Linked DNA regions of Homo sapiens: regions 1, 2, 4, 5 and 6 are each linked to region 3. The links are contacts of gene promoters, found by promoter capture Hi-C in blood cells and fetal thymus (Javierre and others, 2016). All regions are on one chromosome and are shown on one strand. The core of a region is centred on a gene start or on the middle of the fragment in contact, and the rest is flanking DNA. Distances in the headings are between cores, read along the strand shown.

What was found. The method cuts DNA at HindIII sites, captures the fragments that hold promoters and counts their contacts. A CHiCAGO score of 5 or more calls a contact.
Region 1: a contact is called between a fragment that was not itself captured here and the fragment with the promoter of C6orf62 in region 3, in 1 of 17 cell types (fetal thymus). The highest score is 7.4, in fetal thymus.
Region 2: the fragment with the promoter of H4C12 here is called in contact with the fragment with the promoter of C6orf62 in region 3 in 2 of 17 cell types (M0 macrophages and neutrophils); the score reaches 7.0 in M0 macrophages.
Region 4: a contact is called between a fragment that was not itself captured here and the fragment with the promoter of C6orf62 in region 3, in 1 of 17 cell types (fetal thymus). The highest score is 8.7, in fetal thymus.
Region 5: the fragment with the promoter of H3C11 here is called in contact with the fragment with the promoter of C6orf62 in region 3 in 1 of 17 cell types (fetal thymus); the score reaches 7.3 in fetal thymus.
Region 6: a fragment that was not itself captured here is called in contact with the fragment with the promoter of C6orf62 in region 3 in 1 of 17 cell types (M2 macrophages); the score reaches 6.2 in M2 macrophages.

What each region holds. Positions count from the first base shown.
Region 1 is chr6:21,593,114-21,597,585 of GRCh38, forward strand. It overlaps SOX4 (SRY-box transcription factor 4), which reads left to right and starts at 638. Exons shown (of 1, transcript NM_003107.3): 1 at 638-4,472. The coding sequence starts at 1,422. The coding sequence ends at 2,846. RefSeq lists silencers at 1,249-1,428, 2,199-2,288, 2,339-2,388 and an enhancer at 3,199-3,398. The HindIII fragment of the contact is 3,762 bases long and covers 1,065-4,472 here.
Region 2 is chr6:27,828,867-27,833,109 of GRCh38, forward strand. H4C12 (H4 clustered histone 12) reads right to left here and starts at 2,694. Exons shown (of 1, transcript NM_003541.3): 1 at 2,308-2,694. The coding sequence starts at 2,661. The coding sequence ends at 2,350. RefSeq lists enhancers at 2,145-2,254, 2,178-3,003. The HindIII fragment of the contact is 8,845 bases long and covers 1-4,243 here.
Region 3 is chr6:24,716,434-24,720,509 of GRCh38, forward strand. It overlaps C6orf62 (chromosome 6 open reading frame 62), which reads right to left and starts at 2,721. Exons shown (of 5, transcript NM_030939.5): 1 at 2,107-2,721. The coding sequence starts at 2,235. RefSeq lists an enhancer at 3,402-4,076 and a silencer at 3,765-3,934. The HindIII fragment of the contact is 3,349 bases long and covers 1,877-4,076 here.
Region 4 is chr6:20,528,700-20,533,186 of GRCh38, forward strand. No RefSeq gene overlaps it. Among named protein-coding and RNA genes, the nearest start is that of CDKAL1, 3.5 kb to the right of the region's middle. The HindIII fragment of the contact is 271 bases long and covers 2,498-2,768 here.
Region 5 is chr6:27,869,582-27,873,758 of GRCh38, forward strand. It overlaps H3C11 (H3 clustered histone 11), which reads right to left and starts at 2,765. Exons shown (of 1, transcript NM_003533.3): 1 at 2,264-2,765. The coding sequence starts at 2,734. The coding sequence ends at 2,324. It overlaps H4C13 (H4 clustered histone 13), which reads right to left and starts at 3,953. Exons shown (of 1, transcript NM_003546.3): 1 at 3,567-3,953. The coding sequence starts at 3,929. The coding sequence ends at 3,618. RefSeq lists enhancers at 322-961, 962-1,599, 3,515-4,152, 3,584-3,633, 3,934-4,103. The HindIII fragment of the contact is 2,761 bases long and covers 262-3,022 here.
Region 6 is chr6:20,207,803-20,212,289 of GRCh38, forward strand. MBOAT1 (membrane bound glycerophospholipid O-acyltransferase 1) reads right to left here. Exons shown (of 13, transcript NM_001080480.3): 1 at 4,334-4,487. The coding sequence starts at 4,432. Among named protein-coding and RNA genes, the nearest start is that of MBOAT1, 2.4 kb to the right of the region's middle. RefSeq lists a silencer at 4,473-4,487. The HindIII fragment of the contact is 1,766 bases long and covers 777-2,542 here.

The DNA.
Region 1 (4,472 bases), core at 1,696-4,195, 3.1 Mb before region 3:
GTTGTTAAAATAATTGTGATGACAGGTGTCTAGGTACCACTTTCTTAATGGTTTTCAATATCCATTGATTTATTGTTTTGTGGCTTTCTCTTCCCCTTTACAGCTTTGGCTTTAAGAAAGAGCTGGGGAACAGATTTTGCACCAGAGGCTGATTCTTTATTCCAATGCTGAAAAGAACTAATAAAAATAATCACTTGGCTTTTAAGCAGAAAGCTTCCATTTACAGTATTTCACCCTTACCCCGCCCCGTTCCAAGCCCCTTGTTATCTAACATAATGGTTAGAATACATTTCCGTCTCTCCCCTTAATAATTTCATGCATTAACATCCTCTTCACACACTATACACACACGCACGCGCGCACACACACGCGCGCGCACACACACAGCAAAAGGAAAAAAGAGGCAGCAGAAATCTCAGCTGTACTTCTAGCCCTTTTAAAAAGTTTGCTCTGTAAATTGGAATGAGGTCAGATTTGGAGCTTCTCATTGCACGCGGAGATTATTATTGCATCGGGTTCCAAGCCAATGGGAAGCCCGGGGGAGGGGTTTGGCATGAGGAAGCGTTGGTTACAGCAGCTGATTGGCTGCAGCCAAGACTGTGAAAGGATAAAGAGGCGCGAGGCGGAATTGGGGTCTGCTCTAAGCTGCAGCAAGAGAAACTGTGTGTGAGGGGAAGAGGCCTGTTTCGCTGTCGGGTCTCTAGTTCTTGCACGCTCTTTAAGAGTCTGCACTGGAGGAACTCCTGCCATTACCAGCTCCCTTCTTGCAGAAGGGAGGGGGAAACATACATTTATTCATGCCAGTCTGTTGCATGCAGGCTTTTTGGCTTCCTACCTTGCAACAAAATAATTGCACCAACTCCTTAGTGCCGATTCCGCCCACAGAGAGTCCTGGAGCCACAGTCTTTTTTGCTTTGCATTGTAGGAGAGGGACTAAGTGCTAGAGACTATGTCGCTTTCCTGAGCTACCGAGAGCGCTCGTGAACTGGAATCAACTGCTTCAGGGAAAAAGAAAAAAAAAAAAAAAAGACTTGCCTGGGAGGCCGCGAGAAACTTGCATTGGAAGCTTCAGCAACCAGCATTCGAGAAACTCCTCTCTACTTTAGCACGGTCTCCAGACTCAGCCGAGAGACAGCAAACTGCAGCGCGGTGAGAGAGCGAGAGAGAGGGAGAGAGAGACTCTCCAGCCTGGGAACTATAACTCCTCTGCGAGAGGCGGAGAACTCCTTCCCCAAATCTTTTGGGGACTTTTCTCTCTTTACCCACCTCCGCCCCTGCGAGGAGTTGAGGGGCCAGTTCGGCCGCCGCGCGCGTCTTCCCGTTCGGCGTGTGCTTGGCCCGGGGAACCGGGAGGGCCCGGCGATCGCGCGGCGGCCGCCGCGAGGGTGTGAGCGCGCGTGGGCGCCCGCCGAGCCGAGGCCATGGTGCAGCAAACCAACAATGCCGAGAACACGGAAGCGCTGCTGGCCGGCGAGAGCTCGGACTCGGGCGCCGGCCTCGAGCTGGGAATCGCCTCCTCCCCCACGCCCGGCTCCACCGCCTCCACGGGCGGCAAGGCCGACGACCCGAGCTGGTGCAAGACCCCGAGTGGGCACATCAAGCGACCCATGAACGCCTTCATGGTGTGGTCGCAGATCGAGCGGCGCAAGATCATGGAGCAGTCGCCCGACATGCACAACGCCGAGATCTCCAAGCGGCTGGGCAAACGCTGGAAGCTGCTCAAAGACAGCGACAAGATCCCTTTCATTCGAGAGGCGGAGCGGCTGCGCCTCAAGCACATGGCTGACTACCCCGACTACAAGTACCGGCCCAGGAAGAAGGTGAAGTCCGGCAACGCCAACTCCAGCTCCTCGGCCGCCGCCTCCTCCAAGCCGGGGGAGAAGGGAGACAAGGTCGGTGGCAGTGGCGGGGGCGGCCATGGGGGCGGCGGCGGCGGCGGGAGCAGCAACGCGGGGGGAGGAGGCGGCGGTGCGAGTGGCGGCGGCGCCAACTCCAAACCGGCGCAGAAAAAGAGCTGCGGCTCCAAAGTGGCGGGCGGCGCGGGCGGTGGGGTTAGCAAACCGCACGCCAAGCTCATCCTGGCAGGCGGCGGCGGCGGCGGGAAAGCAGCGGCTGCCGCCGCCGCCTCCTTCGCCGCCGAACAGGCGGGGGCCGCCGCCCTGCTGCCCCTGGGCGCCGCCGCCGACCACCACTCGCTGTACAAGGCGCGGACTCCCAGCGCCTCGGCCTCCGCCTCCTCGGCAGCCTCGGCCTCCGCAGCGCTCGCGGCCCCGGGCAAGCACCTGGCGGAGAAGAAGGTGAAGCGCGTCTACCTGTTCGGCGGCCTGGGCACGTCGTCGTCGCCCGTGGGCGGCGTGGGCGCGGGAGCCGACCCCAGCGACCCCCTGGGCCTGTACGAGGAGGAGGGCGCGGGCTGCTCGCCCGACGCGCCCAGCCTGAGCGGCCGCAGCAGCGCCGCCTCGTCCCCCGCCGCCGGCCGCTCGCCCGCCGACCACCGCGGCTACGCCAGCCTGCGCGCCGCCTCGCCCGCCCCGTCCAGCGCGCCCTCGCACGCGTCCTCCTCGGCCTCGTCCCACTCCTCCTCTTCCTCCTCCTCGGGCTCCTCGTCCTCCGACGACGAGTTCGAAGACGACCTGCTCGACCTGAACCCCAGCTCAAACTTTGAGAGCATGTCCCTGGGCAGCTTCAGTTCGTCGTCGGCGCTCGACCGGGACCTGGATTTTAACTTCGAGCCCGGCTCCGGCTCGCACTTCGAGTTCCCGGACTACTGCACGCCCGAGGTGAGCGAGATGATCTCGGGAGACTGGCTCGAGTCCAGCATCTCCAACCTGGTTTTCACCTACTGAAGGGCGCGCAGGCAGGGAGAAGGGCCGGGGGGGGTAGGAGAGGAGAAAAAAAAAGTGAAAAAAAGAAACGAAAAGGACAGACGAAGAGTTTAAAGAGAAAAGGGAAAAAAGAAAGAAAAAGTAAGCAGGGCTGGCTTCGCCCGCGTTCTCGTCGTCGGATCAAGGAGCGCGGCGGCGTTTTGGACCCGCGCTCCCATCCCCCACCTTCCCGGGCCGGGGACCCACTCTGCCCAGCCGGAGGGACGCGGAGGAGGAAGAGGGTAGACAGGGGCGACCTGTGATTGTTGTTATTGATGTTGTTGTTGATGGCAAAAAAAAAAAAGCGACTTCGAGTTTGCTCCCCTTTGCTTGAAGAGACCCCCTCCCCCTTCCAACGAGCTTCCGGACTTGTCTGCACCCCCAGCAAGAAGGCGAGTTAGTTTTCTAGAGACTTGAAGGAGTCTCCCCCTTCCTGCATCACCACCTTGGTTTTGTTTTATTTTGCTTCTTGGTCAAGAAAGGAGGGGAGAACCCAGCGCACCCCTCCCCCCCTTTTTTTAAACGCGTGATGAAGACAGAAGGCTCCGGGGTGACGAATTTGGCCGATGGCAGATGTTTTGGGGGAACGCCGGGACTGAGAGACTCCACGCAGGCGAATTCCCGTTTGGGGCTTTTTTTTCCTCCCTCTTTTCCCCTTGCCCCCTCTGCAGCCGGAGGAGGAGATGTTGAGGGGAGGAGGCCAGCCAGTGTGACCGGCGCTAGGAAATGACCCGAGAACCCCGTTGGAAGCGCAGCAGCGGGAGCTAGGGGCGGGGGCGGAGGAGGACACGAACTGGAAGGGGGTTCACGGTCAAACTGAAATGGATTTGCACGTTGGGGAGCTGGCGGCGGCGGCTGCTGGGCCTCCGCCTTCTTTTCTACGTGAAATCAGTGAGGTGAGACTTCCCAGACCCCGGAGGCGTGGAGGAGAGGAGACTGTTTGATGTGGTACAGGGGCAGTCAGTGGAGGGCGAGTGGTTTCGGAAAAAAAAAAAGAAAAAAAGAAAAAAAAAGAAAAAAAAAAGATTTTTTTCTTCTCTTAATCGGAATCGTGATGGTGTTGGATTATTTCAATGGTGGGGTTAATATAGCATGTTATCCTGTCTATCTTTTAAAGATTTCTGTATAAGACTGTTGAGCAGTTTTTAAAATAGTGTAGGATAATATAAAAAGCAGATAGATGGCGCTATGTTTGATTCCTACAACGAAATTATCACCAGCTTTTTTTCATTCTTAACTCTTTAAAGGATTCAAACGCAACTCAAATCTGTGCTGGACTTTAAAAAAACAATTCAGGACCAAATTTTTTCTCAGTGTGTGTGTTTATTCCTTATAGGTGTAAATGAGAAGACGTGTTTTTTTCCTTCACCGATGCTCCATCCTCGTATTTCTTTTTCCTTGTAAATGTAATCAGATGCCATTTTATATGTGGACGTATTTATACTGGCCAAACATATTTTTTCTTTTGTCCCTTTTTTTCTTTCCTTTCTTTTTACTTCCTTTATTTCTTTATTCCTTCCTTTTCCTTTTTTTCTTTTTTTTTTCTTTTTTTTTTTTTTTTTTTGGTAGTTGTTGTTACCCACGCCATTTTACGTCTCCTTCACTGAA
Region 2 (4,243 bases), core at 1,444-3,943, 3.1 Mb after region 3:
CCTCACCATGTTGTCCAGGCTGGTCTCAAAGTCCTGGCCTTAAGCAATCTGACTGCCTCATCCTCCCCAAGTGCTAGGATTATGGGCATGAGCCATCGCACCAGGCCAAAAACACATTTTTAAAGTTAAGACTTAAATGTTGTTTTATAATTTTACACCACCAAAGTGATGTGACACGGTGAAAAATTTAAAGCACAATCATAAGAAGCAGATTATTTGCAACCAAATCTGTAACAATAATATTCTACTTGTGGGATCTTGGGTTGAGGTGCATATGCTCTCTAAGCCTCGATTTATTTTTGTAAACAATTATGTGATGATGATAAAAATAGTTCCCAGCTCTAAGGGTTGTTGTAAGGATTAAATGAGTAGGGCCGGGTGGCTCACGCCTGTAATCTCAGCTTTTGGGGAGGCAGAAGTGGGAGGACAGCTTGAGCCCAGGAGTTGGAGACCTGAAAAAAAAGACAAACAAGTGTAAATGAATTGGTAAATAAAAAACACTTAGAACACTGACAACAGTAAGTGCAGTGTGAAACACTTAGCATTACTTTTATGCCAAATTCATAACCTGTAATTGCATCTGACCATCATCCCTGGGTAAGAGCAATCTTTTTTTTTGTTTTGTTTTGTTTTGTTTGGCGACACTCTGTCACCCAGGCTGGAGGGCAGAGGTGTGATCTCGGCTTACTGGAACCTCTGTGTCCCAGGTTTAAGCGATTCTCAGCCTCAGCCTCTCAAGTAACTGGGATTACAGGTGTGTGCCACCACGCCCGGCTAATTTTTTGTATTCCTAGTAGAGACGGGGTTTCAACACATAGGCCAGAATGGTCTCCAACTCCTGGCCTAAAGCTGTCTGCCAGCCTTGGCCTCCCAAAGTGCTGGGATTACAGGCATGAGCTACTGCATCGGGCCCAGAGAGCAACCTTTTCTAACAGCCACATTTTAGTACTCTAGATTCAGCCAGGAGTTGTGTAATTAAACCTTTGTCTATTATGAAATCATAGGAAATACCTGTGTCAAGTGCATTTTTTCACACAATTTTTGCAAATGGAGACATCTTCATTATTCCTATAGTATCATATGTTTTTAAAGTTTGTACTCACACTTTGGGTGATAAATGAAGGACAAGATCCTTCCCTATCCTTGTGAGGATGACTACAGCATGACTGGATGGGCTTGCTATGATTTTTATCTTTCCCTGTGTTCTCACTACCGTTTTATTAATCTCAGTTCTTTTTCACAGGGTAGCACAGAATTTAACTAGCAGAAAGAGATCCAGCCATGTAGACCAGAGATTTGTCTAAGTGACGGCATGTAAGAATCAGGAAGGAAAGTTTTTTGTTTAAATACCAACAGGTTCCTTCCTTAAAGCAATTATTATTTTTCAAATCTAACCCACAAGGTGATAGTATCCTTAAACCAATTAAATCAGAATCTCGGGTTGGATAACCTCAAATATGACTTATTAGCACTTCCCATTAATCACTGGTCCTTCAGGCCTTTAAGTTTACTTACTAGGAATCTCACTTTTAATACCATCTTATCAACTTCAGTTGTAAATAAGAGAACACTCAAAGGCTGAGGAATTCTCAGCGGTAAAGCTCTGCCCACGTTAAGTAACAAAGGATAAGTTAGTCTTTGTTGTGATCACTTTGTTGTACTGATAAGCTACGTATTTCTACTCAAGGATTCAAATTCTCACCTTTCTCAAGAATTGGGCCAAAACCGATAAACTAAACTTATTTACGGTCCACTGATTAAAGGTTGTTGCATAATAAGTTCTTGCTATGTTCAGCAGTTGGATTCACAGCGCCAGAAACCTATAACTGCTTGACTTTCCTCCCCACTACACTGCGAAAATTGCCCCTTAAATGTAACTAACCCTAAAACCTCAACAGTATCGTGGCCAGGCGTGGTGGCTCACTACTGTAATACCAACATTAGGCATAGGCGAGGGGATTGAGGCCAGGATATCGAAACTAGCCTGGGAAACACACGGAGACCCGGTCTTTGGAAAAATAATTAGCCTTGCGTGGTGGTGGGCGCGAGGTTCCGGCTAATCGGGAGGCTACAGTGAGCCATGATGACACTGCACTACAGTCTGCGCGACGGCCCATGTCAGTAAGCTCTGGAGCACCTGAAACAAGTTGTGTTGGGTATTTTATTTACTGGAGAGCGATTAGTGACTGATGCCTACTTACAGCGACTAGAGACGCATGCTCCGATAGCAGCACAAACTCAGCAGGCGCGAACAAATGGTAAAGAGAAACTGGGCAAACAAGCATCACGGCTCCTCAGCTGAGAAAGTGGGGGCCCTAAAAAGGGCCTTTTGTTGATAGAAAGGGACGCTCAACCACCGAAACCGTAGAGGGTGCGGCCCTGGCGCTTGAGCGCGTAGACCACATCCATGGCGGTGACCGTCTTGCGCTTGGCGTGCTCTGTATAGGTCACGGCGTCCCGGATCACGTTCTCCAGGAACACCTTCAGCACCCCGCGAGTCTCCTCGTAGATGAGGCCGGAGATGCGCTTCACGCCGCCGCGGCGAGCAAGGCGCCGGATGGCCGGCTTGGTGATGCCCTGGATATTGTCGCGCAGTACTTTACGGTGGCGCTTAGCGCCGCCTTTGCCAAGACCCTTCCCGCCTTTGCCGCGGCCAGACATGACGAGCAAGAGGAGTCTCACCCAACGCTTTGTGAGGACTCTGGCCTGAGGCAGCGCCTTTATACGACAGTTGGCGGACCGAACTGAGAACCTGAAAGAAGTCGGCGGGAAGTCCCGCCCCGGTGGGGGAGGGGAAATCTAAAGGGCCAAACCGAAATAGGGGGAAAAAAAAAGCGAGCTTCTTGTTTCCGTGTTCTGAATTTTGTAACGTGCATAGTATTTTGTTACCACGTTATGAGGCTTTAAAAAATTGCTTTTGAACGCAGAAGATATACATCAATACTGTGGGAAATACAAGAAAGGACAAGAAATTAAGAAACTACAATGTTATCCCATCACACAGGCTAGTTAATCATGTATTTTGCAGAGCAGTTGCACATATTTTTCCAAGAAAATGTATACAGTGTTGTATATGGAGTTTTGTAACCTCCTTATATTGATTATAATTTAACCAATTTCTATTAAAGAGATAAAAGTGATGTTTTGGTGTCTATGTTTCTTAGGAATTATCAATAGTTATAATCAGTTCCCCAGCAATTTTTTAATCGGCTGTATTTTAAAAATAATGTTTTCCACATTCAACATAAATGTACTTTTTCTCTATACTTGGGACCAATATTGAAATTTATGATTTTATTACACCAAAATTTAAATTTTATTACATTAATATTTAAAATTGTATTAGAGGTCTCATGATTTGGTACTACGGGTCTCCGCATTATTTCCTTTCCAAATTTCCTAATCTGTTTCACCAAGGTTTCTGGACAACTTTAGAGACCTTTTGTGAAGTTTGAATAAAATCTCTTCGAGATTTTGATAATTGCATTAGCTTTAGGACTTAATTGGAATAGAATTAAAATCCTTAAAACAAGCTCTTATAACTAGAAAATTGGTGTTTGTAGGTTTTGTGTGTGGGGTTTTTTTTTTTTTTTGGAAGGAGTCTCGCTCTGTCGTCAGGCCGGAGGGCAGTGGTGCAATCTCGGCTCACTGCAACCTCCACCTCCCGGGTTCAAGCGATTCTCATGCCTCAACCTCCGGATTAGCGCGGACTACAGGCATGCGCCACCACGCCCAGCTAATTTTTTGTATTTTTAGTAAAGAACAAGTTTCACCATGTTGGACAGGATGCTCTTGATCTCTTGACATCGTGATCCGCCCGCCTCAGCCTCCCAAAGTGCTGGGATTACAGGCGTGAGCCGCTTCGCTTGGACGCTTGTAGGTTTTTAAAAAGACACTTTTATATGACCCAACTAAAGATTTGTTATCAACCATTATGGAGCAACTTTGATTCCGTATATTTGATTTTCTTTCTTATTAATAAATACAGGGTTATACTCTGAATTTTTTTTTTTTTTTTTTTTTTTGTGGAGACGGAGTCTCGCCCTTTCGCTCAGGCTGGAGTGCAATGGCCCAATCTTGGCTCACTGCAACCTCCACCTCCCGGGTTCAAGCGATTCTCCCACCTCAGCCTCCCCTGAGTAGCTGGGATTACAGGCACTCACCACCACGCCCGGCTAATTTTTTTGTATCTTTAGTAGAGACGGGGTTTCACCATGTTGGCCAGGCTAGTCTCCAACTCCCG
Region 3 (4,076 bases), core at 1,471-3,970:
GCAGTAACTTATACACTGAAAACACATTTTCAGATAGGTAATTCCTTCTGTTCTTCCCCTACCTCCCCCTCCAACCATACATGTACAAACTGTCATTAGAATGTTTAATGCTTGAGTTTTATAGCATAATGGTATCCATAGCACTATTTTGGACAATACTTCTTAAAATTAAAAATCTCACCAGTTTTAAAACAACGCTATTCAGACAAATGAATAGTTTTATTCCTTATATGGGCCAATTTCCATTACTTTCTCAATATTACATTATCAAAACCATCAATATTTCTGGTTTTTCTTTTTTTTTTTTGAGATGGAGTCTCACTGTGTTGCCCAGGCTAGAGGGCAGTGGCACCATCTTGGCTCACTTGCAACCTCTGCCTCCTGGGTTCGAGGGGATCTCCTGCCTCAGCCTCTCGAGTAGCTGGGATTACAGGCCTGCGCCACCACACCTGGCTAATTTTTGTATTTTCAGTAGAGACAGGGTTTCACCATTTGGCCAGGCTGGCCTTGAACTCCTGACCTCAAGTGATCCGCCTGCCTCAGCCTCCCAAAGTGCTGGGATTACAGCCGTGAGCCACTGCACCCAGCCAAAACCATCAATATTTGAAAGACTAAAAAGAAGCACACCAAGTTCTCTTTTAATACTACTCAAGACCAAGTACGCATCACTAAACTACTTTTTAAAATTCTGTACTATTAAGTATATATCATGAATTATTCAGGGCAACTGCATGGACACTGTCCATTCACAGAATAAAACCAGATTATCGTTGGTGTTAAAGAATTAAGATGGTGCAATTTGGGGCAATATATAGATTAAATACAAAGATATGGTCTCACTACTTATTATCTTGGATTTATTTAAAGAGCATACACTGTATCATCTTCAACTAAAATCCAATCTCATCAATTTTGAGTCAGCTTGTCAACAAAACAAAAGTGGAGATGTAAGTCCTTGATACCACCCAATCTTGGGACAGTCACTTCAAAAATTACTTAAAAATCACTTCACAATGCTATACTTCAGCAGCTAAGAATGTTCTTAAATACAAATAACCTTTTAGGAGTTAAGAGTTGGGGCTGTGCGTGGCAGCTCCTGCCTGTAATCCCAGCACTTTAAAATGCCATGACAGGAGGATCACTTTAGCCCAGGAGTTCAAGACTAGCCTGGGCAATACAGTGAGGCCTGTCTCAGCAACAAAAATAATAAGAGTTAAACAGTAGGGGGAAACCTGGAAAACTTCCAGATACTTAATAGATACCACACTAAGATTGTATTTCTGATCTGAAATTAGCTAACAATTTAAGCACCAAAATCCAAGTAGCACTTCCTTACATTCATAACCTCATCTTTGGTCAAATAAGCCTTGCTGATAATTTAAGAAAATGTTCATTTTAAGTTGCAAAAAATACTGCTCTTATCATCCCATCCTTGACTACTCACAACTTACTGTTTGCTATTTAACTGCGGAACTAATTCTGATTAAGACCTCCACCGCCCCTAAAAATGAAACTTCCTCTAGGTCATTTTGAGTTTTTAAAAACTGTACTTCTATACAAGGCAAAATGAACTCTAAGTAAAAAAGAAAATCACACTTCTAAACACAAATTAACCATTTCAGTATTTAATTGCTCCTAAAAGGTGTATTCTACTTCATTAAATGTAAGAGAAAAGGTTACCTACATTACGCAGTTTAAGAAACAGGATAAACTTTAGCATATAAACAGTCTGATTACAATTTCACACTTTCAACCATCTTATTTATACTCTACATTAGATAATCTTTAAATTCCATCATAAGGTTTCCCATGTTAACTCCATATAAAATTTTGTAATCTTGCCCACCCCATGTCAACTCAGTGTATACTACTACTAAGCTTCAGACTCAAATTTATTTCCAAACCAAAGAACGCTCAAGGGTCTTTTCGCATGCTGCAACTGCTCAATTCACAGAATCACCCCTAAGGGTGAAAAAACAGAGCATACAAAGCAGACTTTTTTTCAACCACTCTTTAACCTAATATTCATAATAATTTAAGAGTAACAAATAATATACACTTACAAAAATTACTTGTGCTAATTCACCATTAAGAACTTTAAATTACCTTCTCCTTGAATACAAAGGCAATATACATCTTGAAGTCAAACTGGTCAGCTAGAGATTCTTTTTTCTTTCTAAGCTGAGCACGTAGTCTGTTCAGAGCTTGTTTCTTCCGGGAGTTTGGGTCCCCCATTTTGAAATACAGGTGGTACTAAAGCCTTTGGAAATTGTCACTAAACTATGGGCACTTTTTCTTAAGACTCAAGTACAACAGAAACAAGTCATTTTTTTTCCTGCTAATATGATTGATTAGCGAAAATCACGACTATAACCCAAAAACTGCACCTTCTGTCAATATTAGCAGACTGTCATATTACAGGGTCAAGAAACAAAAGCTGCTGTCCAGTCATGTTTGGACAATAACGTTTGGGGTCAGACGGGAAAAAGGGAGGAAAGAAAGGAAAGAAAGAGGAGAAAATAACTAACTTTCTGGAAAACACATTTGGCTTAACTGCCAAAATAAAGGCTTTGCGGAGAAATGAAAAGCCTATAATCAGGATTTAGGTGTGCAATAAAACACAGCTGACACCAGACCAATCCCTAAAATCCATCCGGATTTTCCCCCCTTTTTAGAAAAGGGATTAAGGAACAGGGAGGGGGAAGTGTGATCCTTGCTTTCCAAAAAAAAAAAAAAAAAAAACTCACCAAAACCAAAACCAAAACCAAACACCAAAACAGGGTAGGTGAATGAAACTGAAATATCCAATTAGATTTTACCCAGCCAGCTCCATGGCTGTAGTACCTAATTCTTAGTTATTTCAGATTTCACTATTGCTATGTATTGTCAGTGCTTGTTATTGATTACACTTGGTGGTGAGCATAGAGAAAAGTGCAAAATCGGTAGAGAAGGAAAGGGAGAGGTACAGGGTTTCCCTGCAATCAACTACAGTGTATACCGGGGGCGGGCAGCTGTGGCCCAAAGGAGCCATGAGAAAAAACAGCGGAGTCATTACCAACTTCCCCATCACCCACATTTTCACCCTCAGGCGGCTGCTAACGCTGCTGCCAAGGAGAATCATGACGGCAGAAGGAAAAGGGGTATATAATACGGTATTAATTATTCCGGCTCTGTGGTTAGACCTGATTAATGCCCGGGTTCCCAACACCCCCAGCCTGCAACTAGTCCTACATTCCCCAAGGGAGACTTCCCTGTGGATCTGCCCCCGTTCAAAATGGTGGGGAGTGCGATTTATCTTCTTGTGAGCATTGCCGAGGCAAAGGTGGCGGGTTCTTCTCCCAAATCCCAGGCGGTGCCCGGAGACCACCTGCCTTCCACCCCCGCAGGTCCCACCCCCACCCCTTGCCTTCAGCGGCAGCGACTCACTCGCACCACGGGAGACACAGGATCACTCAGGTTTTCACTCATTTCATCGTGGAAACAATTCCCGCCCGGGTGGAGTGGGCGGGAGAGGGTAAATGGGAAGGTTCAGTGGGGGAAAAAAAGAAAATAATTGTGTTAATATTACTTCTAAAGTAAGCCCACCCACCCTCCCCCCAAAAAATTAAGTTCCCGGATTAGCTCTCTCTCACGTTGAACAGACCATGTTTCCAGAGTTTGGATTGTTTAGGGTGGGGTCGTTAGTTGTTTCCCGAGGGGCAGGGGGTGGAATTGAGGCAGCTAGGGCGGGGTGGGTGACGGGGAAATCCCCTCCCTGTCCCCGCGGAGCCCGGGACTCACGGACCGACTCTAGGGCGGGGTTTGGGCCCTCTAGCCGCAGCCTGCGGGCGGAGCGGTGGCGGCGGCGGAAGAGGCGGCGGCGGCGGGGGCGCTGCTGGTAGCACGGGCAGGAGCCATGTCAAGAGAAAACCACCAGCCAACTGAGCCCCTCCATCCCCGCTGCAGTGCGCACCGTGACTGGACCGCCCGCGCTGCTGCCGCCGCTCAGCCCCCACCTGGGACCCATAGTCTGGCTCGGCGCCCTGGGCGGCAACGGAGGGGAAGGACGCGGAGACAGCGGCAACAGGGAGAGAAAA
Region 4 (4,487 bases), core at 1,383-3,882, 4.2 Mb before region 3:
ACATATATCTAGTATTTCTCTCGCCGCCCGCCCCCCCCAATTCCTCTGCTGTTACCATATTTCTTCTTGGGTTCATCCAACACCTGAAAAATCTTCCTAAAAAACTGTTCAGTTGGCCAGGCACAGTGGTTCAGGGCTGTAATCCCAGCACTTTGGGAGGCCGAGGCGGGCGGATCACCTGAGGTCAGCAGTTGGAGACCAGCCTGGCCAACGTGGCAAAACCCTGTCTCTACTAAAAATACAAAAATGGGCCAGGCGCGGTGGCTCAGGCCTGTAATCCTAGCACTTTGGGAGGCCGAGGCAAGTGGATCACCTGAGGTCAGGAATTTGAGATCACCCTGGCCCATGTGGGGAAACCGCGTCTCTACTTAAAAAAAAAAAAAAAAAATAGGCGGGTGTGGTGGTGGGCGCCTGTAATCCCAGGTACTCAGGAGGCTGAGGCAGGAGAATCACTTGAACCTGGGAGGTGGAGGTTGTAGTGAGCCGAGATCACACCACTGCACTCCAACCTGGGTGACAGAGCAAGACTCCATCTCAAAGAAAAAAAAAAAAAAGATAGTAGAAGTATAGCACTCTGACCCCTAGTGGTTAAATTATGCAGAGAAAATTCAGCATTTGTCCAAAGACAATAGGAGGTTATTTCACATCATGTTCCTATATGATCTTTTTATCAGTTTATTAAAGAACATCAGCATTCTTCCCTTTTATTCTCTACATTGAAGCACCCATCCATCCGGGGCAATTTTTCGTTTCTCATAGATCTAGTATTTCTCTTTTTGCCCCCCTCTATTCCTCTGCTGTTACCATCTTTCTTCTTGGGTTCATCCAACACCTGCAAAACTTTCCTGAAAAACTGTTTAGTTGGCCAGGCACAGTGGTTCAGTCCTGTAATCCCAGCACTTTGGGAGGCCAAGATAGGCGGATCACCTGAGGTCAGGAGTTCGAGACCAGCCTGGCCAACATGGTGAAACCCCGTCCCTACTGAAATTACAAAAATTGGCTGGGCACGGTGGCATGCTCCTGTAAAAAAAAAAATTAAGAGCACTTAATAGTCATACTTTTCACTTTGCTTATATGTAGCTTATATATATATAAATATAAAAATCTGTTTTAACTCTCATTCTACTAAATTCACCTAATGTTCTACATAGAAAATTTCATGTATATTGTTTATCATCTTTCAAGAGTGAATTAAGCACATGAATATTTTCTCATGAAAAGGGATATTGATTGGTACAGATGTGTATGTATAATGGCTAGTTGCTCAGATCATCAACTAAATCTAAAACATGTGTTCCAGCTGGGCTGGTGGCTCATGCATGCAATCCCAGCGCTTTGGGAGGTTGAGGTGGAGGACTGCTTGAGGCCAGGAGTTCAAGACCAGTCTGGGCAACATAGTGAGACTCTGTTGCTGCAAAAAGAGTTTTAAAATTAGTCGAGCGTGGTGGCATGCCCCTGTAGTTTCAGCTACTTGGGAGGCAGAGGTGGGGGGACTGCTTGAGCCCAGGAGTTCAAGTTTCCAGTGAGCTCTGATGGTGCCACTGTTCTCCAGCCTGGGTGACAAAGCCAGACCCTGTCTCCAAAACATAATCTTAAAAAGCAGTTCCCAATTCTTAATTTTAATTTTATTTATTTATTTTTGAGAGAGGGTCTCATTCTGCTGCCTGGACTGGAGTGCAGCGGTGTGATTTCGGCTCACTGCAAACTGGACCTTCTGAGCTCAAGTGATTCTCCCACCTCAGCCTCCCGAGTAGCTGGAACCACCATGTCCGGCTACTTTTTTGTTTGTTTTGTAGAGACAGGGTCTGGTCATGTTGCCCAGGCTGGTCTCAAACTCTTGGGCTCAAGTGAAACAACTGCCTGTGCCTCCCAAAGTGCTAGGATTACAGGCATGAGCCACCGTGCCTGGCCCCAGATTTTTATAATTTTCATATTTTATTCTTTATTGATTAGTCACTGAGAGGGTAAGAATTGTGTAACTTCTTTCTTGTCCATATTTTCTCTTCAATTTTTACTGTGAAGGCCAACATAAAATATTTAAGGCAAACAGATTTTTTTTTTTTTTTTGAGATGGAGTCTCACTGTGTCACCCAGGCTGGAGTGCAGTGGCGCGATCTCGGCTTACTGCAACCTCCACCTTCCAGGTTCAAGCGATTCTCCTGCCTCAGCCTCCCGAGTACCTGGGACTACAGGTGCCTGCCACCGCGCCCGGCTAAGTTTTGTATTTTTAGTAGAGACGGGATTTCACCATCTTGGCCAGGCTGGTCTTGAATTTGTGACCTCGTGATCCACCTGTCTCGGCCCCCTAAAGTGCTGGGATTACAGGCATGAGCCACTGTGCCCGGTCCAGGCAAACAGATTTTATTCCACTTTTCCTTGATCACTCTTTTGTTTTTTCTCTCCAATGCTTTTTCTCTATTTGAAATTTTGCACTATTGTTGCTTTCTTCTGAAGTATTCATATAGAGTTGTTAAAACAACTGAAGTCAGACTGCCTAAGCTTTAGGTTTCTTCTCTGTTAAAAGAGATAACAAGATAATAATAGCACTCCTCATTTATAGGGTTACTTATGGGTGGTTATTGGCACACATTTATAAGTGTTTGAAAAAATCTTAGCTTTACTATTATTTTATAGATTTACTTGCATTTTTAATGTTCTTGGTATACACCAATTGGTTTGTTTACTTATTACCAAATATTTATAAAGCATTTAGTGTTATATTGTTGGCTGAAAAAACAGGAACAAAATAGGATGGTGTATATTTATGAAGCTTAACTCTAATTTAAGAAACAAAGCATTATTTTTTTTTTTCTTTGAGACGGAGTCTCACTGTGTTGCCCAGGCTGGAGTGCAGTGGCGCGATCTCAGCTCACTGCAATCTCCGCCTTCCAGGTTCAAGCGATTCTCCTGCCTCAGCCTCCCGAGTAGTTGGGACTACAGGCTCATGCCACCATGCCTGGCTAATTTTTTGTATTTTTAGTAGAGACAGCGTTTTACCATGTTAGCCAGTATGGTCTTGATCTCCTGACCTCGTGATCCGCCCACCTTAGCCTTCCAAAGTGCTGGGATTACAGCCGTAAGCCATCGTGCCTGGCCTTTTTTTTTTTTTTTTAATCTTTTTGAGATGGAGTTTCGCTCTTGTTGTCCAGGCTGGAGTGCAATGGTGTAATCTCCGCTCACTGCAACCTCCACCTCCTGGGTTCAAGAGATTCTCCTGCCTCAGCCTCCTGAGTAGCTGGGATTACAGGCATATGCCACCACACCCAGCTAATTTTGTATTTTTAGTAGAGACAGGGTTTCACCATGTTGGTCAGTCTGGTCTTGAACTCTTGGCCTCAGGCGATCCACCCGCCTCGGCTTCCCAAAGTGCTAGGATTACAGGCGTGATCCACTGCACCCGGACTTACTGGTTGCTTTTCAAAGGTTGTACAGATACTATAAATATATTTAACCAATACTCTATTGAGGAGGAGCCGGAGAGGGTTTCCAGTCTTTTGCTATTGTAAGCAATGCTTAAAAAAATACTCTGGAACATAGGTCATTGTAAGCAATGCTTCAAAAAATACTCTGGAACATAGGTCATTGTAAGCAATGCTTCAAAAAATACTCTGGAACATAGGTCATTATGTATATTTCTGTAAGATAAATTCCTAGAGGTAGGGTTACTGACTTCAAAGGATTTAGACTAAAGGTGCTTAAAGAGAGAGGTTTCACCTGTTAGTTAGTTTTTGTAGCCAAAACTTGAAAACATCCTTTCTTCCTCTTTTTTCGTACCTATCAATCACCAAGTCTTGCTGCTGTTACCTCCTCAATTTGTTTAAATCTGTCCTTCCTTCCCATTCCTCCCAGCCAACAACTCAATTTAGGCTTTTACTATTTCTTCATGTCTGAAATATCGTCCTCAAACCCATTGTCCTGAGAGAATAATCTGCTCGAACACATTCATGTTGCCTACTACATACATCCAGGATTAAGTCTAATGCCTTTGAATACACAAGGTTCACCTTGATCTAGTCCCTGTGCTTCCCTTTCTCTGGTAGACTTCTCCCATCACCAGCTTCACTCTCTTTGCTTTTACACTGTGGAATAATTCATCATTTCAGGCCTCCTTGCTTTTGCTCTGGCTGACTCTCCAGCTTGGAATGCCTTCATCCATTTCCCTTACTTCACCTTTGTGTTCCTGTGCATTCATCTTTCATAGTGATTGCTATTCTCTACTGAAATGAATTTTTTCAAAATAGCCTGCAATTGCAATAGGCAGTACTTTTTTTCTTTCTTTTTAGCTCTAGCATCTATCACAGTGCTTGTGGTCATGGGGTACATACTCAGTAAAATATCTTTTACTGAACTCAACTAGATCTTGGGGGAAAAGGGGTGGAGTCATTCATTCATTCATTCATTCATTCAACATATGTTTATTGAGAAGCTATAAACATAGGCACAAGGTTATGTGCTAGGTAGTGCGATTACAACCAAGAAGATAACCC
Region 5 (4,177 bases), core at 1,515-4,014, 3.2 Mb after region 3:
GAGCCAGGGTATAACAATAAGAGCTGACACTCATTCAGCATTTACTACCTGACAGGAAGTAATCTTAAATATGTTCTACAGGTTTCTATTAATTTGCTACATTTACAGCTATACAAGATGAGGCCCAGATAGAGAATTAATAACTTGTCAAAGGTTATACAGCTATGAAGTGGCAGCTCTAAATTTTAAACCTAGAAACATGGCCTCAGCTCTATTATGGAGGGAAAATCCTTGAAGAGGTGAGAAGAGAACTATCTTCAAAGCTTGGAAGAGGCAGTGTCAAGTTGTTCCTACACCTAGCAAACAGCCACTAAAAGAGCTCTAAGTTAATTGTGGGAAGAGGCTTCTGGCCCCATGGATCAAAAGTGTTTTTTTGTTGTTTGTTTTTCTGAATCAAATCTTAAGTTTCCAAAAACTTTATACCTGTATCCAACCCTTTGAATGTGAGGACTTTTTTGTTCATCTGTGATGGTGGATATCACAAAAATTATGCACAGACTTTTCTTTCTTTCCCTTCCTTCCTTTTTTTTTTTTTTTTTTTTTTTTGAGACAGAGTCTCACTCTGTCACCAGGACTGGAGTGCAGTAGCGTGATCTCGGCTCACTGCAACCTCAGCCTCCCAAGGAGCTGGGACTACAGGCGCCTGCCACTATGCCCAGCTAATTTTTTGTATTTTTAGTAGAGACGTGGCTTCACCATGTTGGCCAGGCTGGTCTGGAACTCCTGACCTCGTGATTCGCCCGCATCGGCCTCCCAAAATGCAAAGTGCTGGGATTACAGATGTGAGCCACTGCGCCCTTCCTTTTTCCTTCCTTCCTCCCTTCCTTCCTTCCTTCCTTTGTTTTCTTTCGTCAGCTATCTTTAGTGATCCTGTATTTTAGGTGTGGCCCAAGACAATTCTTCTTCCAACGTGGCCCAGGGAAGACAAAAGATCGGACACCGCTGCACCAGTTGCTGGGATACATGCCTCTTTGCAAGAGTGAATCCAATATGAGAAAGGAAGGCACAGATATGAGGCTGAGCTGGCTGAGAGCACTAGGGAGAAAAATTGCCTTCACATCTCTGCCAGATATCTCCTAGGTCAAGATGTGTGCTTCAAAAAGTTTAAGAGCAAAATGAGGTCATGATAGTCACATATGTAGAGCACATGAGGAAACTCTAAAACAGCTGGAAATAATGGAAAAGTTTGGTTAGAAACCAGGAAGAGCTTTAAAATACCACTTGAAGTTTAATACCCAGACTGATTCTCTCTGAAAAAAAAAAAGAAAGAAAAAATCTCATGAAAATCCAACTCCACAGTCTATGACAAGCATATGGTGAAATGACAGGAAAATATTTTTTAAGGTCCACTTAGAGCTAGAAGTTCATTTCATAGATGACAGCATGCAGTAGGTTAAAGTATCCCTCCTCAGAGGCCCACTACCTAACACATGGCTTGCTAAACATTACATTGAAACAGAACAAAAGTGTCGAGCTTTTTGTCAAAACTGTTACTTGCATGGGGTACGATGGCAACTTTGTTATGTGCATATGCTCCAAGGTGGTCAAGTTACATGGGCTATACAAGAGCTAAATAGCTTACATTGTACCAATTAAGTAACTTATCATTCATTCTTTCCTCCCTTCTGAGTCCTTATTGTCTATTGTTCCACTCTCATGTGTGTAGTTTTTAGAGCCTGTTGTTTTTTGTATTTTTGAGGCGGAGTCTCGCTCTGTAGCCCAGGCTGGAGGGCAGTGGCGCGATCTCGGCTCACTGCAACCTCTGCCTGCCAGGTTCAAGCGATCCTCCTGCCTCAGCCTCCCGAGTAGCTGGGACTACAGGCGCGTGCCACCACGGCCGGCAGTCTTTTTTTTAGTGGACAGGGGGGTTTCACCGTGTTAGCCAGGATGGTCTTGATCTCCTGACCTTGTGATCCGCCTGCCTCGGCCTCACCAGAGCCTGTGGACACTCATTGTGCTACTTGTTCCCTTCAGTAGGGGCAGGTAGATACGCAGGAGACACATTCCTCAAGGATAAAAACAGGAATACTTTTCAAAACTAAACTTCATCTGTAAAATTGACCCCATGACATGTCTTTTTTGAGTGATAATCCTTATCAGTAGGAACAGGTTCTGTATGTGAAATTGATTTAGCATACCAACAGCCTGTGACCTGACTCCTGCATTATAGTGTGTTGGGCCACTACCACGTTTTGTCCACAGCTTGTATTTAACATGGAGCTAAGACACGTCTCAAAAGCTACAGCTTCCTTTTGGTGACAATTGAGGGGCTCTGAAAAGAGCCTTTTGGGGTTGGACAGACTTCTTGGGCTGATAGGAATATTTATGCCCTCTCCCCTCGGATGCGGCGCGCAAGCTGGATGTCTTTAGGCATAATAGTGACGCGTTTGGCGTGAATGGCGCACAGGTTGGTATCCTCAAATAGCCCCACCAGGTAGGCCTCGCAAGCCTCCTGCAGCGCCATCACCGCCGAGCTCTGGAAGCGCAGATCGGTCTTAAAGTCCTGTGCGATCTCCCGTACCAAGCGCTGAAAAGGTAGCTTCCGGATTAGCAGCTCGGTCGACTTCTGGTAGCGGCGGATCTCGCGCAGGGCCACGGTGCCGGGGCGGTAGCGGTGGGGCTTCTTGACGCCACCGGTGGCCGGAGCGCTCTTGCGAGCCGCCTTGGTGGCCAGCTGCTTGCGCGGCGCTTTGCCGCCGGTGGACTTGCGAGCTGTTTGCTTTGTTCGTGCCATGGCTAAGTAGACGTACCTACTCAACACAAATGAGAGAAAAAAACTGATCATCCCGGTATTTATAGCTGCCCTCGCGTTCTGATTGGACAGTAGACTGTGCCATGCCACGTCTCACACACGGAATTGGCTCCCAGTTTAATCTGCTAGTGAAAGGGAGACATTCCGCCTCTGTTTTGGGTCAAGAAACGTAAAATGGTTTTGCTAGCTAAAGAAAAACAAAAACGGAAACAAAAAAAAATCCCCCAAAAGTCTAGGATTTTTCATGCATCAAAATCCTGTTTAAATATAAGCTTGATAAATCTAAACTTGCCTTGCACTATTTTAATTACGAGGTGTCATTACTGATTTGACAAAAAGTTAAAGAACGTAAAGGAAAAGTGAAACTAGAGTAAATTTGTAAATGGAGGCATTGAAGGGGATATGAAATTCGAGCGTTGTGGTATGCCAGTATTTCTCAAATTTAAACGTACTTAATGTTTTAGAAGTTGGCCGACTTTTTCTGTAAAGGGCGATATTAAAACATTTTGGGCGTTGCGGACCACAGTGTCATAGTTACACAGCCCTCGCATTGGTAGCGGTAAAGTAATCGATACAAGATAAATGAGACCGGCTGTTTCATTATGACTTTTGCAAAAACCAGAGAGGCGTTATAGATTTGGCCGTGTATCAGAGAAGCCGGCACTTTTAACCACTAAGTAATGCTGAAAGGGGCACCGAACCTCAAACTTCAGCGACTGCTTATGTGGAATCGCTAATTTGCCAAAACTGCCATACGTTTAAGTGTTCTTAAGAAATTAACTATCTTTAGTCTACAGCTCTTTCACAGACTTCATGGGTGGCCCTGAGAAGGGCCTTTGAGGAACCGTGTAAGTAAGTAAAACACTCAGCCGCCAAAGCCATACAGGGTGCGGCCCTGGCGCTTGAGCGCGTAAACCACGTCCATGGCTGTGACTGTCTTGCGTTTGGCGTGCTCCGTGTAGGTAACTGCATCGCGGATTACATTCTCCAAAAACACTTTAAGAACTCCGCGTGTCTCCTCGTATATAAGGCCTGAGATGCGCTTAACGCCTCCACGCCGTGCCAGGCGTCGGATGGCGGGCTTGGTGATGCCCTGAATGTTGTCGCGCAGAACTTTGCGGTGGCGCTTAGCGCCTCCTTTGCCCAGACCCTTCCCGCCTTTGCCGCGCCCAGACATGTCTTGTACTAAACAAAATGCAACACGGCAAGCCTCGCAGCAGTACTTTATATAGTAATAAATCGGACCTGATTGGGAACTCTCCACACCAGCTGCATCCGGTCGGCCGATTCACAGACCTTGCGCCCTGCCCACGACTTCAGGAAAAAATGGAAAAGGGGGTACTTAAACTCCAGTTTCTAAAAATGATGCCCAGTTAAAAATTACTCAGCTCATCTTGCCCTTCTACAGTGTTTTAGGCTGACCAC
Region 6 (4,487 bases), core at 410-2,909, 4.5 Mb before region 3:
GCATCCCTTCTCTGTTCCACGACGGCACCATCTACAAACCTGTGCAGTGCCTACGCAGGTCTGTGAGCATACACAGCCTATATACTTACATGGGCCTTTTGTTTCCTCTAGAGTATATAAGCCCTTGCAGGATGGGGACCTTGATTTTTTTCATCTTTGTATTTCTACCATATGGCCAGGTACCTGGCACTAATAGCATTAAATAAATATTTAATTGATTTAACAATGACTGGAATGTGAGCTGAGCTTTTAATGAAGGACAAGACTTAGATAAGAAGAGAACTGAAGGTTGGGCTTTGCAAGCATGGCCAAGGGAAGCAACCAGGACTGACAGATCCAGGTAGGTAAAGAAACTTTGTAGTCGGCCGGGCGTGGTGGCTCATGCCTGTAATCCCAGCACTTTGGGAGGCCGAGGCAGGCGGATCACAAGGTCAGGAGTTCGAGACCAGCCTGACCAAGATGGTGAAACCCCGCCTCTACTAAAAATACAAAAATTAGCCGGGTATGGTGGCGCGCTCCAGTAATCACAGCTACTCTGGAGACTGAGGCAGGAGAATCACGTGAACCTGGGAGGCGGAGGTTGCACTGAGCCGAGATCGTGCCACTGCACTCCAGCCTGGGTGACAGAGCTAGACTCTGTCTCAAAAAAAAAAAGAAACTTTGTAGTCATGGGCCCAGGTGAAATAATCAAACTCACTCCTGGTATCACCATTAGTCTGGAATGCCACGTCTTTAAAGCTGGTCTTCATTTATCCAGACTTGTAAATGGTGACACAAGCTTACATTAATAATCCTAAACCTTCGCTGTTTTAATCTCAAAATTATTTCCTGGATTCTTATCTCCTGGTCTATTTTCCCCTTGCCCCTTTTTCTGCTGATGCCAAATTAGGGGGAAAAAAAAATACCTCAGAGAGTCCTAGTGTAACACTGAATTCATACTTCATGCACACACACACAGTTTGGGGGCACCATCAGGTGAAATACCCCAAAAATGCTTTGCTGGTGGGCAGAATTTCCAACCACCAAATTGGAAGTTCCTTAAAGCCTGGAAACACTTTCCATTTCAGCTTTCACAGCTCCTAGGACATAATGACGTAACTGTGCACTACACAAATTACTAACATCAACATTATCATATCTGTTTTGGCAACTGAGTCAGTCTTGCAAACCTTTAGTTTAAAGGCACATTAAGTTACACTCCACAACCAAAACAAAGTGAGGAGGACAGGAGCAGATGATTCCTTGATTCCCCCAAAACAGGAAAGAAAAGTGCTTGCCCACTTTATCCTAAGTGAAGGTTTTTATTGGCATAATCCTACCACCTACCATAACTCCATATTTGCTCACTGGACAAGGGCCCATTATTTAGAAATAAAGTTTTCAACAACCTTATCTTTGAAGCATCTATAGAGGCCCCTAAGTCATCATCCCATTTCCTGTATTCTGCATCTGAATTATTATGCGCTATTTGTCTCTAATTAAGGGAGATAATTTTATATTTCACATCTTTAGGAGGATGTCAGACTAATCAAAATCCCTAAAACAAAAACCATAGACTTTTCCTGAGTATAGTCCTAACCACACACAGGCTTTCCTATTTAAGGATGCCACGAAGTTAACAGAACAGATAAATGGAAGAATCAGATGAAAAAGAATGAATAAAGAGTTCTTCACATACGAAGCAGAATGCTTACCAGGTATTTCCATTTTTGCTGATAATAAACTACTTGACACAGGATCCAGAGGCTAAAGACATTCACAGGAGTGCAATTAATCAGGAATTAGGATGTTAAGACATTAGGAAATGATTCAGTGTCCTTAAGAGGCATACAAAAAACTATTTGAGTAACTTGAGATATATATTTTATAATTTTGAGCATATCCCAGGCCAATCAAAAGTCACTCTCTAATGGGACAGGAGCAAACACGTATCAAGGCCTGCACTCTTATCCTCAGGTTACTCCCTAGATCTGCCTCCACCTTTATCCTCCCTATCCTGTGCCACAGGAGGAGCCCCTGCAGGCTGAGGCCTTGGGGGCCACTGTGAAGAGATGGAAGGGCTACAAGGTAGGAAGAAGGGCTGAGGTTCTCTCTCTGATTCTTCATGACCTCCAGGCAGGTCCAGCTCTCACAAATGGCAATGAAGTAACTCCACTTTCCCCTCCAGCTGCCCCCTACTTCTGATCTCAGCATCTCAACATCCTTTGTTGATTCCCTTAAACTTGCCCATACCCCTCTAAGTAATTCATTAAAGTCTGTTCATTTCAGCCAATGGGGTTGGTTCCCGTTTCCTGCAAGGACCCTGATACAAGAACCTTCCTAATGTCGGGCATTTCACATCATATAAAATTTCTCAACCTCAAAAGGTAGGTCTTATTGTCATCTCCCATTTTACATGAGGATGCTGAGTCTCCAAGAGGGTAGAGTACCAGCTGGCAGTCACAAAGGGAAGTTTGCTGGCAGAACTGGAATTGCACCCAGGTCAGTCTGACATCTAAGCCTTTAAAAAGCCTTAAAAATGTGAAAGGGAAAAAACACACAAAGCTTCCAAACTCGCAAGCCACAACGTAGCCTCAAACGACCTTATTTATGGTTTGGGGATTTTCCTTGGGCCTAAAATAAGCTACCTGGGGCACTGCCTTTTAAGTGCTTCTTCCACCAAGGGTCATCCACACTCACTCCTGCTGGAGGGTGGTCAGACTGACCTAAGAGCTAAGAGATCTCAGGTGCTCCTGGCCATGGCAAACATTTCTCCTTCGGTTTATCCCAGAAGTCTCTCCCTCCCTCCCTCCCTCCCTCCCTCCCAGTTTTAAACATTCCTAAGGCTCTTTTGTTCCTTTTTATGAATTAAAACCAGAATTACCTTTATAGGAAAGTAGGGGATGCAATTGAAAGACATTAAAAACATTATTCTAGCACCTCCCAGCCATAACTTGCCATGGTCCTTTAGCCATACAAAAAGCCTTCCTGGAGTCTTTCTAGCTGTGTAGAAGAGCTTAGAAGAGAAAATGCAATTAAAATACCTTCTGATAGGGAGTGGAGAGGTAAGTACAAAACAAACTCCCCTTAAGGAAATTCAGCTATGAGTTTTATTTAATTTCAGAACTAAAGAATTTGCTATTATGTCCGCCTCTGCCTGGGTCCCTGGGTCTATCTCATCCTCACCAGAAACTAAAGAGTAATTTACAAAAGCACAAATGCTTTGGCACCGAAACCCTTCCCAAGTTTCTGACTTTCTGTATTCTGCAACTGATGAGAACGCAATGGTCACATCAGGTGGAGTTCTCAGTCAGGTCCTCAGAGTGAGCCAGGTATGAGGGTGGCTCAGTAAACAGGACCCGAATAAGGCAAATGTCCAGGTCTCACTTTCTCATTGCTGAAGGGGTGTGCGCAAAGGGCAGCAGGTGTGCTCTTGTTAAAAGGAAAGGAAAAGGAGCACTGGTGAGAGGAAGGGGAAGAAAACCAGGCAAAAAAGCATGAAACAAAACAGGAGCGCAGTGGGTCCTCCCCCAGCATGCCCTGCCCAATTCTATTTAAATCAACATTTACTGATTGGGTCACTACTAAGTATCCCGCAGATCTAGCCTGCAGCACCTGAAGAGACAAGGAAATGAGTAAGACGGGCTTCATCTTCAGGAAGGTTTCTTGCCAGGAATCACTGTTGTTGCCATTTTTAATTTTAATGGTTGTAGATAATTCCTGGACAGTTCAAATAACTTCACTGGGGCCCCTCTCCTCCCCCTAACCTGTCCTACTCAGAAGCTCCAGCCCCAGGCATATGAGCCAACCGAACCCTGGGAAAACCAAAGTGTCCTTGTGTGTCCCGCATCACACACGGTACAAAATAACTGTCACCCCTGAACAAGCCTCGCCTCAGAAGTCTAAAACCCAGGTCCTGCATTCAAAATCTATAGACTACCGTCTACAGATTCATCGCGCTTGTTTTTTAAGTAGGGTCATCTAAATTAAAAACAATAACGACTTGAGGACACTGATGAAAGAAACACTGGTTTCATGTATCAGACTACTTCAGAACTTGATTACAGGAAACGAGGCAATCCCAAACTTAAAGAAAAAAAAGTTCAGTAGAACTTGCCGCGCAGGCTGTACCAATATTTTTTCACACTTACAAGGAGAAAAACACTAACACCAACTCAAGAAGGGAAAACACACACACACACACACACACACACACACACACAAAAACCAACTGTCTAGTGTGTGGCTGTAAAATACGCCATGGAGGCGGAGGGACGGTGGCTAACACTTTCGCCCGCCCCGTGCACGCGATCGCTGGGGAGCTGGGGTCGCTGCGCTCCCGGCCTGCAGTTACCTGGTCCAGCGGGATGCCCAGGAGCTCGCTGAGCGGGTGCAGGTAGGTGGAGCCCGTGGTGCGGTAGGAAAGGCTGGACGGCTGCGGCTCTGCTGCCATCCTGCATCTTCGGGAGGTGGCTGCCCCTGTCCCAGCCCGCAACACCCCCTGCTCG